Regions from separate parts of the Homo sapiens genome. Here region 2 is linked to region 1. The links are contacts of gene promoters, found by promoter capture Hi-C in blood cells and fetal thymus (Javierre and others, 2016). All regions are on one chromosome and are shown on one strand. Each heading gives the region's core, a stretch centred on a gene start or on the middle of the fragment in contact. The rest is flanking DNA. Distances are from core to core; before and after follow the strand shown. Region 1 holds the start of PRSS27 (serine protease 27). Region 2 holds the start of LOC101929566 (a long non-coding RNA gene).

Region 1 (5,691 bases), core at 1,394-3,893:
CCTCAGCTTCCCCTTAACCCCCAGTGCCTTCCGGTGCCCGGGCCAGCTGCTATGGACCATGTCTTCACTCTGCCCGGAAAAGATAACCAGTCCCCTGGAGTTGAGGGGCTGTGGGGACAGGAAGTGGCCATGGAGGGCCCAAGCACCCCCAGGGTTTTTACGGCATCCTCTTCCTTTCTGTCTGCCTCACAGTCTGGGGGGCACCCTCCCCAACACCACTGGTGGGCAGAGACACCCCGGGGGTTGCTGGACGATAAGGCAGCGGGCGGCGAGGGGGCAGCTGTGGATGGGCAGGAGGAGGAGGTGGAGAAGGTGCAGGGCAGGCAAAGGGGTGCCCTGCAGAAGCGGGGTCAGGGGCAACGGGAAATGGAGAGTCTGCCCTGGATGCTCTGCTCATTAATTTGTGCTAATTAAGTGCCCTTTAAAATGCAAACACTACCGGGAGGGTTATTCCCTGGCCCCCCGACCCCTTGCTCCTTCCAAGCCTGAGGATCCTGCTTGCAGAAGGGCGCGCACTGTCAGGCCTTCTCGCTCTCTGGGAGTCTGCAGGAGCTGTGTCTCCATGCTCCCTGCCTGAGCACTGCCCCTTCAGCGATGCCTCCTCCCCATGCAGATCCTTCCTTCCTAAAGTAGCCCTGTACTTCTCATTTAGGCAGAGTCTTCTGGTCTCTGAGTGCTTGCTCCCCTCACCCCACAATCTGGATGCCCTTCCCCCAGTCTCCATAAGTCCTAGTCTTTTTTTTTTTTTTTTTTTTAAGATGGAGTCTCACTCTGTTGCCCAGCCTGGAGTGCAGTGGCGCGATCTCAGCTCACTGCAAGCTCCGCCTCCTGGGTTCACGCCATTCTCCTGCCTCAGCCTCCCGAGTAGCTGGGACTACAGGGGCCCGCCACCAAGCCCGGCTAATTTTTTTGTATTTTTAGTAGAGAGGGGTTTCACCATGTTTGCCAGGATAGTCTCGATCTCCTGGCCCCGTGATCCGCCCACCTCGGCCTCCCAAAGTGCTGGCATTACAGGCGTGAGCCACCGCTCCCAGCCAAGTCCTAATCGTGATCTAGAGATCAAGGCCCAACTGAATGCTGCCTCCTCCAGGAAGCCTTCCTTGCTTGCTTGCATTGTCTACCTTGGAAGCCCTATACTCTCTCTTGAGCTCTCTGTCCTGATGGGAGCTCTGTCTACATCACCCTGGAGCCAGAATCAAGTCTTATCTTAGCCCAGGAGCTCCGAGAAGGCAAGGGCTGCATCTGGGGGGCCTGATCTCAGGGAATGTGTGGATGGACACAAGTGTGGCTGTGGGGGCTGATGGGAAATGGGGGATGTGGACAGCTGAGCCCTTCAGGGTGGGCGCCCTGTGGGGGCTGGAAGCAACAGCCAGGGGTGCCGGGGGTGTCAGGAGCATTGTTTGGGGCCTGGGCCTGTGATTCGCTGGTAGCTGGTGGGGATGGTGAAGCTTAGTGGGTACCACCAGCCAGAGACCTGGTGGGAGTGCCACCCTCGGGCTGGGAGTGAGGACGTGTCCAGGAGTCCAGCCTCTGGTCACAGCTGTTAGTGAACCGACTGCAAAACTCATTGCCAAAGAGTTTTGGCAATGACCTTGGTTCCTCACCCCGCTCAGGGGCAGTCACAGCCTTCCACCTCCTGTGCACATGGCTTGCTCAGAGGGCACCATCCTTGTGCTGGGAGACTGGGGGCATGGGGTGGGGGAGGCCGGGCCACTGAGGGGCCACTGGTGCCCTCCCACCCAGGAGAACAAGGAAGCCTGGAGTACTGGCTAAGCTGCAGCCTGGGATGACCTGACCCAGCCCTGGGAGGTGACTTGAGGACAGGGAAGTGTGGTGGCTGCCAGACTGGCTAGGCTAGCCCAGGAATGTGAGAGGTTTTCCCTGACAGAGAGTGTCCCGGCCCGCAGGGAGGGGCCTGGCAGGTGGGGCCCCCTGGCTGGCACCTGCTGTCCCTGACCCAGGACTGGGAGAGGGCACGGTGGCGCATCACCGGTTCCTCTGTCAGCAGGAGACAGGGCCCTCTGCCACCTACACCCCCTGCCCCCAGCTCTCTACTGAGCCTGCAGCCAGCCTGCTGGGGCTTCCGGGCACAGGCAGCAGCCCTCGGCTCGGCCACCCTCCCACCCCGAGTATGATGGTCCAGGCACTTGGAGCCTGAGTTCACATCCTGCACGTAGGAGGCCCCTGTCCTCACCTAGAGAATGGGGGGAGAGGCCGAGGTGGCAGGAAGCAGGGAGCCTGGCCAGAGCTGGCACACCAGTGCCCGCGGAGAGGCATGGGAGGAGGTGCTGCCCAGTTATGCCGGTGGGGTCCTCTGGGGCCTGTGCGCACACCTCCCACCCTGCCTCCCCACTTTGGACTCCCCACTTGGCACATCTGGAGCCTTCCCACCTGCTCAGGGGCAGGAGGGATGATGGCCTGTCCCACAGCCCCAGCCTGTCCCAGGGAGTAGGGGGCTGAGCCGGAGCCCCAGGCAGTGCAGCGGAGCCTGGTGGGGGACTGCACCACCAGGACCCTGCACCTTCACGACTCACCAAAACACAGCAGCAGCAGGAGCGGCACCGCCGCCGGCCGCCTCATGTCCTCAGGCCTGGCTGGGGCGCAGGGCCGTGGTCGGCGGTGGCAGAAGCGTTGGAGCACGAGCGAGGTGCAGGCTCCATGAAGTGGAGTTTTATGCTGGAGATGAGCACAGGCCCGGCTATGCGGCCCAACCCGTCGGCCCGGCCTGCCCAGCTCCTCTCCTCAGGAAGGAAGCGCCCAGAGCCGACTCCTCCGTGACCTAGCCCTGAACCCCGAGACCCCAGGGCAGACCCCTCACCCCAGCGCAGCACGGGGTGCCGTTGGCCTCGGTTCCTGGACCCTGAGCTGACCCAGACCCCCCAGCAGACCCCGAGCTGACCGCGGTGCACGCGAAGTCCGTCCAGCTTCATTCATTATTATTATTATTATTTTTTTTAATTTTTTGAGACAGAGTCTCGCTCTGTCGCCCAGGCTGGAGCGCAATCTCGGCTCACTGCAAGCTCCGTCTCCCAGGTTCAAGCCATTCTCCTGCCTCAGCCTCCTGAGTAGCTGGGATTACAGGCAGGTGCCACCACGCCCGGCTAATTTTTTGTATTTTTAGTAGAGACGGGGTTTAACCGTGTTGGCCAGGCTAGTCTCGATCTCCTGACCTCGTGATCCGCCCTCCTCGGCCTCCCAAAGCGCTGGGATTACAGGGGTGAGCCACCGCGCCCGGCCTCATTCAGTATTTTATTGAGCGCCGATGGAACACAGTGGGGCTGGGCCGCGCTGGTGGGAAAGTCAAGGCCAGGGGTGTTTGCGGGGCCGAGGGCAGGGGAGGCGATGGGACATGGGGCGGGGTCCGGAGTTGGCCGCAGCGACCCTCCTCCCGGGACAGCAGGCCCCAGAAGTTCCTCAGGCGCGCGCCAGCGCGGCCCAGGCGGCCGACCCGGGCCCCGGCTGCCATCCCTTGGAAGGGGCGGGGGCTTCCTGGCACCAGGCGGGGCGGAAGCGGCTCCGGGAAGGCCGGGCCGGGGTTACCGTTTCGGTGTCCCCGCCTGGCTCTGGGCGCGGCGCCGCGGCGGAAGAGGCTCGGGGAGGAAGTTATTTGGGGCACGGCGCTGACGTCAGAGACAGAGTGGGGCCGGGCCGTGGGGTCGGGGGCGCCGGACCTGTTTCCCCGCCGGCGCCGGGGGTCGGTACTCGCGGGCGGGGCGGGGCCGGGCGGCTCCGGGCGGGGCTGGGGGTGCGGCCGTTCCCGCCTCAGCCTTGTCCGCGCGCGTCGTGGTGCTGCCCTCTGGTGGGCGCGGGGCGCGGCGCGGGCGGCCAGGGGTGCAGAAGGGGCGCTCCCAGCCTCATGGTCCGGGCTCCGGCTCCCCGCATCGCCCTCCCTAGCCCCGCCCTCCCGCGTCTCCGCCTCCGCCTCCACCGCCTCCTCCCACCCTTCCCTCCCCGTCCAGTCCCTGGAGTTCCCGGGTCGGGGGTGGGAGGCGGGCTGGGCAGCCCCTGGGGGTCTGGAGGGAAGGAGGGAGGGCGAGGAGTGGGAAGAGGGGACTCCAAACGTATTCATTCATGTATTGATTTATTCATTCAGTCAGTCAGTCATTTCTGAGCAGATTTGAGCCCAATACTGTCCCCGGTTTGGGGAATACAAAGGTGACCCAAACAGACCTCACCTCAGTGTGAGAGAGAGAACATCATTTAGCAGAGAAATCTCTAATTATAAACCGCGACGGGCTGGGTGCAGTGGCTCACACCGGGAATCCCAGCACTTTGGGAGGCCAAGGCAGGCAGATCACCTGAGGTCAGGAGTTCGAGACCAGCATGGCCAACATGGTGAAACCCCGTCTCTACTAAAATACAAAATTAGCCGGGCTTGGTGGCGGGCACCTGTGATCCTAGCTACTCAGGAGGCTGAGGCAGGAGAATCACTTGAACTCGGGAGGCGGAGATGGCAATGACACGAGATTGCAACACTGCACTCCAGCCTGGGAGACAGTGAGACCCTGTCTCAAAAAAAAAAAAAAAAAAAGGAGAATAATAATTATCAACCACGGAAAGTGTTTCAAAGTGTCTGGGTGACCACATTTCTCCAGCACCCTATGGTCAGGTCACTGATGGGATCTCAGAGGCAGTCTTAGAGCCTCGCAGGTAACTATTTCCTCTTGGCACCTTTCTGTGTGTTCCTTGGTGTCTGCTCCCCAACCCTCCTTTTAAGCCCATTCCTCTAAGGGTGTCTCTGCCTTAAAATCAAGAAAGTGACAAAAGTCAAGATGCAGATCAGGGCCAGGTGCAGTGGCTCACGCCTGTAATCCCAGCACTTTGGGAGGCCGAGGCAGGCGGATCACGAGGTCAGGAGATCAAGACCGTCCTGGCTAACACGGTAAAATCCTGTCTCTACTAAAAATACAAAAAATTAGCTGGGCGCGGTGGTGGGCGCCTGTAGACCCAGCTACTCTGGAGGCTGAGGCAGGAGAATGGCCTGAACCCGGGAGGCGGAGCTTGCGGTGAGCCAAGATCTCGCCACTGCACTCCAGCCTGGGTGACAGAGCGAGACTCTGTCTCAAAAAAAAAAAAAAAAAAAAAAAAGATGCAGATCAGAAAGCGAGGACGCCAGGGAAACTTGGGCTCCTGAAGAACAAGGCACAGCCACGCCAGCGATTAGAGGATCGGGAACCCAGACCTCGCCTCCATGTCCCTGTACCTGGAGCCCACGGACCCAGGGCTGAGAATGGGCCCCTTCCTCATACCACCCACCAAACAAATGAAGAGGGCATTACAATCCAGAAAGATTTTTATGTTTTGTTTTGTTTTGTTTTGTTTTGTTTTGTTTTTTGAGACACAGTCTCGCTCTGTTTCCCAGGCTGGAGTGCAGTGGCACGATCTCGGCTCGCTGCAACCTCTGCCTTCCAGGTTCAAGCGATTCTCCTGCCTCAGCCCCGCTAGTAGCTGGGATTACAGGCCTGTGCCACCATGCCCAGCTAATTTTTGTATTTTTAGTAGAGATGGAGTTTCGCCATGTTGGCCAGGCTAGTCTCGAACTCCTGACCTCAGGTGATCCACCCGCCTCGGCCTCCCAAAGTGCTGGGATTACAGGCATGAGCCACCATGCCCGGCCATGTTTTTAAAATAATCAGTCCCTCCCTTCAAAAATAGAATTGGGGCGGGGTGCCATGGCTCATGCCTGTGAGT
Region 2 (5,691 bases), core at 1-2,500, 150 kb after region 1:
TGAGCTATGATCGTGCCACTGCACTCCAGCCTGGGCCACAGAGTGAGACCCCGTCTAAAAAAACTAAATAAAAGAGATAAAACTTGTATGTGATTTGTTTTTCTTCCCTATCTTTACCATAGAAAAATAGGATCCAAAAATTTCCGCAAATATCCTGGTAGGACTTGGAAACTCAGTCTTTCTTGCCCTTGAAGAAAAGAGAACTAGTTTTTTGGTTTTTAATGATTTGGTGTCAAGGTCTGCTGTAAAAGAGGAGAACAGTGGCTTGAGGACAGAGAAGACAGGAAATACCTCACCTAGACACCTAGACACAGGAAGGAGGAAGGATTTTCCAAAGCACAAAAGAGGGGAGAAACTGAAAACTTAGGAAAGTTCTCTGAGGGGGGCATTGCTCAAACATCCAGGAGCCCCAGGGAGCCAAGGCCCCACTGGTTGACCTCAGGCTTGAGGTTCAAGGGAGTGCCCAGGGGTGCTTCACTGATCAGAATCTGGCCCCCATCCATGCCTGCCCTGCCCAGGGCTGTACTACCAACGTCCACTTGCTCCCACACCTGGTACTCCCATGCTCCCCTAAGCAAGGCAGATTTTCAGCTCTGGTAGAGCCAAACTGAATGTCAACTGTAGGTTGATAAACAGCCATTTCCCCAAGTCCCCAGGTGCCCCTTACTGCCCAGCTGCTCCAGGCCCTCCACTATCCTCAAAATCTAACACTTAAAGAGTGAATGCCTGTTTTCACACAGGGCCTCCAGCATCTCCAGCAAGACTGTTCTGATTGTCTCATGCCTGTAAAGAGCTGGTTGTTAAATATGTGGGTCAGTGCAGAAACTGACCTGAATAAGTCCCAGGCTCCCTGGGCTGGGATCCTCATTTCTCTTGCTTTCTCCTAACCTGATTAACTGTGAGCCTTTACAGACTTGCTATCTATAGGTCCATGGTCTCTCTCAGGGTACATTGTACCAGATCCACAGTTTGCAGGGCTGAAGCCACCCCGGGATCATCTGGGCCTCAGTTCCAAAAACTGTTTGCTACTATACTCAACACACCACCTCGCTTCACCCTTCTTATTCTGCCCCAAGCATTGTCTTCCCCACTGTACACATGAGGAAATTGGCTCAGAGAGGGAGGAGTTGATCCCAATTCACATGGCTAGGAAGTAGAAAGGCCAGGACTCAAGCAGAAAGGAAGTAGAAAGGCCAGTCACAGGGCCATTTTAAGACCTTGATAAGCCTGGAGCATTCTCAGCTTTGAAGCCCCCATCACATGGCTTCGAACACATGAGCATGCACCTCCCTCTGCAGAATAAATGCAATGGACCCACAACCGTGTGCTCTGAGTTGCACTGGACCAGTGGACATAATTATGTCTAGGAGACATTTAACAAACAACTATGTAATTCAACTTGGCAACTCCATTTCCTATTTCAGAGTAAGGATAATTTTCCAGGACTCAGACATTTTTGTAAGCCCTACATTGCTGTAATACCAAAAGCCTACAATACGTTGAAACTTTGGTCTTCTCAAAGCATGCCCAGCTCCTCCCCTTCTCTCTGCAGTATAATCCCCATTTTACACACAAGGAAACCATAACAGGGTGCCTCTGGATACAAATAGCAGAGTACTCCGACTCACAATTGCTGAAGCAAAATAACATGACTCTATTATTGTGACTTTATTATTCCAGGAAATGCTTGCCCAGAAACACAAAAGTTGCAAATAACCTTACTCCTTGAGTTCAGGAAAATCCATTAATAAAACCACACAGCTCTTCAACAGGGAGCATCAAAGAAAGCTCCAAGAGTCTTTGAAGCCCTCACTTCACTGTGACCACCAATACAAAACTGTGACCAACAATCCTAAACTATTATAACATGATCCTTACCCAGCCCTGATTAAGTCCGACATCAAAGGACCTGCCTTAAACCAAACCCCAAAACCTCAGTATCTCAACTTTGCCCTCCCGACCTCCACTCTACAATGACTCTTTCAAGGTGGTGCTTCCCCTTAGCATAAGCAACAACCCAGTTTTGTCTTATCAGCTGCTTGCTTTGATGCTATTTCCAGGAGCCAGCATTTGAAGAGGGAACCAGGACCAACACGGTCGGCTGTGTCCAATGAGGTAGGATGAAGCACTGGAGTAAATTTCCCTGGAGAGGTGCGCACTGCCTGCCAACAAGAAAGGGGAAAGCAGTGAGCTGAGATCGCCCCACTGCACTCCAGCCTGGGCGTCAGAGTGAGACTCTCAAAAAATAATAATAATAAAACATTAAAAAGGCGGGGGAGGGGGGGCGGGGGGGGTACCGGAGAAGCAGGCGTCAGTGTTCTACTACAGTCCCACAGTAGTAGAACGTAGTCATGGTGTCTTTGCTATTCGTGCTGAATAGCTGGTGTTTTCCAAAGTAAGTATAGAATTAACTATACTTATTATTATTATTATTATTTTTCTGAGACAGTGTCTCGCTCTGTCGCCCAGGTTGGAGTGCAGTGGCGCGATCTCCGCTCACTGCAGGCTCCGCCTCCCAGGTTCACGCCATTCTCCTGCCTCAGCCTCCTGAGTAGCTGGGACTACAGCGCCCGCCACCACGCCCGGCTAATTTTTTGTATTTTTAGTAAAGACGGGGTTTCACTGTGTTAGCCAGGATGGTCTCGATCTCCTGACCTCATGATCCACCCACCTTGGCCTCCCAAAGTGCTGGGATTACAGGCGTGAGCCACCGCGCCCGGCCAACTAACTTATTTTCAAAATAAGTATAGAATTAACCAACCATACCTCCTTAATTGATGGTTCTCTTAATCTTGATTCCAAGGGTCTTAACTATCTGGATGTACTCATTGTATGCTAAACAGACACCAAAAGGATTGACTAATCTCATTTTTATGTACAGAGAATCAATTCCCGAAAAATGCTGCAGGTTTTGCATTTGTTTTAAAATTTTAAAGGTCATAATATTTATTAATACATATTTATACCCTTAGAATTCCCAATCTGGCAGCAAATAGAGTCCCATTCTATTATGCCATTGAAAGTAATGATAAAAACCGCAGTTACTTTTGCACCAACCTAATAAAACCATGATTAAAAAAATAATAAACATTTAAAAAGCGGTGGGGGGAGTGGGGCGCGGGGGCGAGCCGGAGAAGCAGGCGTCAGTGTTTGCTAAAGAAACCAAGGCCCAGAAGAGAGTTAAATGTTTTGCCCAAGGTCAGGCAAAGAGTTGGCAGGAGGTCTAGAGGAGAATTCAGGCTTCCTCATCTAAACTCCAAGCTTTTCCGCCCAAGCAGGGCATGCCCTGGGGCCAACCCCTCCAGGAAGCCTGGGTAGTGTCCTTCCCTGCATTTCCCCAGTGGCTGCTGCCTCAAGGTGACTCAGAAGGAAGCTGTTGTCTCTAGTTCCTCCTCACCAATCCAGCTGGTCTTAGGATCGGGAAAAAGATAAGCTAATTGTCTGGTGGTTAATTAACTCCAGCCAACTAATGATCTGAACTTGCCGCGGATACCCAGCCAGCGGAAGTGCGGTTAACTGCCCGAGGGATGCCCCGAACACCGGCCGAGCCAACTTCCGGCCGCAGAGGCTGCCGGGCAGGGGTTATGGCGGCCGCCAGAGTGAGCCAGCTTGGTGTCCGGGGACACTTGGGGCACTGCGGATGGACAGCGCTGGTTTTCAATACCAGGGACCTAAGTCCGGGTGGGGAGCGGCCCCTCAGCGCCCCAGACCCCTGCCACGGTGCCGGTGACGGGCCACGCCCAAAATATCAGGAAAAGCGTCTCAGTCCTCCTTGTGGGCGGAGAAGAGACCCAGCGGCCGAGCCCGGGGGCCTCAGATCCCCAGCTGCTCATTGGCCTGTGTCTGTCGCCCCCCGGTGGCCGCGTGAGGGACTGGAGCCCGGCTTTGCTCCTCCCGTTGGCCTCGTTTCTCTTCCTGGCTTTGCGTGTCCCGACCACTAAAAGCCCCAAACATGACGAAGTAAAATGGGCACCGTCAAAAACCGCATTTGAAGACAGTGCGCATGAGCGCATGGTTAAGTTTTCAGACGTTTTGCAAGCTGGATGTTAAATACATTTTTTGACGTCATTGTTAAAAAATAAATTTTATGAGCCTACAATTAAATACATTATATTAAAAACAAAGGTAGACGCCTGCGCGGTGGCTCACGCCTGCAATCCCAGCACTTTGGGAGGCCGAGGCGGGTGGATCACCTGAGGTCAGGAGTTCAAGACCAACCTGGGCAACATGGTGAAACCCCATCTCCACTAAAAGTACAAAAATTAGCTGGGCGTGGTGGCGCGCACCTGTAATCCCAGCTACTTGGGAGGCTGAGGCAGGAGAATCGCTTGAACCTGGAGGTGGAGGTTGCAGTGATCTGAGATCATGCCACTGCACTCCAGCCTGGGAGACAGAACGACTTACTGTCCAAAAAATAATAAATAAACAAATGAAGAAAGAAAACACTCAAAATGTATCACTGGTTAATTGTTTTGCTGTTTTACTACTATCTGTGTTCTTGGAGTGATTTACATCCATCTTATCTGTATGGTGGGAATACTATATAATAGTGTGCTATTGCACGTTTCTTTCCAACTCTATGTTCAATGACATCATATTGGAGACTTGAAATCGGCTATGGTGGGAATATTTACACCATAGAAATTGGTAAACTGTAGAAATCAGGGCTTTTTTTTTTTCTTCCCAGAAAGTCAGTTGTTAAACATTCAGCAGCATACCACTGGAGTCAGACAATAGCCAACGTGGAGAGACAGAACAAGGTCCGTGTCTTTTTGGGGTCAGCATAGGAACATAATCATTTTCTGCTTTATTAAGATTCAGCGCAGAAACTGACACATGGTGCTCCATGAGTGTTTGAGGAAGAGCAGGAGAGAGGAAATTATGTGCTTCGCTGGGCTCTCAATTTACTTATCAGTTTGCCTAACCTTGACCCTCACCGGGACTCTTACCTCAACCTTTTCTCTCCAATTATCCTAACAGCCCTTGGTGCACCACGTGCAAGGCCTGAATGCTAACAATTGAAAGCGTTTCAAAAGCGAAAGTCAGCCAGGGAAGGATTTTGAGTTGGGGGTGATAAAATCAACTTTGCTTTAGGATGAGAATCAGCCATCTGTTTGTGGAACAGGTTGAGGAGAGGAACAACCAGCAGCAGGGAGACCAAGACTTTGTTCCACACTGACCGTGTGTTAGGCCTGTGTAGAGAGAGATGGGGCTGCAGGGGTGAGCTTAAGCCGCGATCCTTGGCTCCAGGAGCTCAGTCTTCTGAGGCAGGAGATAGTAAACAGACAATCACTGTGACTGTGATGTACACACTGGGGGAGAAGGCAGGTTGAAGTCCTGGAGAGCAACTCACTCTGCCTGAAGGAGGCAAGGAAGCAGTGAGCCAACCCAGAACTCGTAGGGCTTACAGTCAGAGGGACGCTGTCAAAAAAGGGAAGACAGGAGATGACAGCATGTGAAAACTGCCTAGGCAAAGCCTGGAAAGGAAAAACCGCAGGAGACTGATGGGAGATGAAGCTGGAGAGGGTTAGAGTTTCTCACTGCAGACTGAGCATTTTTGAGACGGGGTCTCGCTCTGTCACCCAGGCTGGAGTGCAGTGGTGCGATCTCAGCCTCCTGGGTTCAAGCACTTCTCTTACCTCAGCCTCCTGAGTAGTTGGGACTACAGGCACATGCTACCACGCCCAGCTA

What was found. Contacts are between HindIII fragments. The CHiCAGO score rates a contact against its expected background, and 5 or more counts as called.
Region 2: a contact is called between a fragment that was not itself captured here and the fragment with the promoter of PRSS27 in region 1, in 4 of 17 cell types (endothelial precursors, total CD8 T cells, naive B cells and 1 more). The highest score is 6.2, in endothelial precursors.

What each region holds. Positions count from the first base shown.
Region 1 is chr16:2,717,581-2,723,271 of GRCh38, forward strand. It overlaps PRSS27 (serine protease 27), which reads right to left and starts at 2,644. Exons shown (of 6, transcript NM_031948.5): 1 at 2,535-2,644. The coding sequence starts at 2,580. RefSeq lists an enhancer at 2,914-3,481 and silencers at 3,215-3,974, 4,105-4,174, 4,858-5,027. The HindIII fragment of the contact is 5,437 bases long and covers 1,447-5,691 here.
Region 2 is chr16:2,864,695-2,870,385 of GRCh38, forward strand. It overlaps LOC101929566 (a long non-coding RNA gene), which reads right to left and starts at 3,510. Exons shown (of 3, transcript NR_188573.1): 1 at 3,398-3,510; 2 at 2,767-2,835; 3 at 1,654-2,162. RefSeq lists enhancers at 3,314-3,433, 3,534-3,713, 3,724-3,793. The HindIII fragment of the contact is 4,018 bases long and covers 1-3,259 here.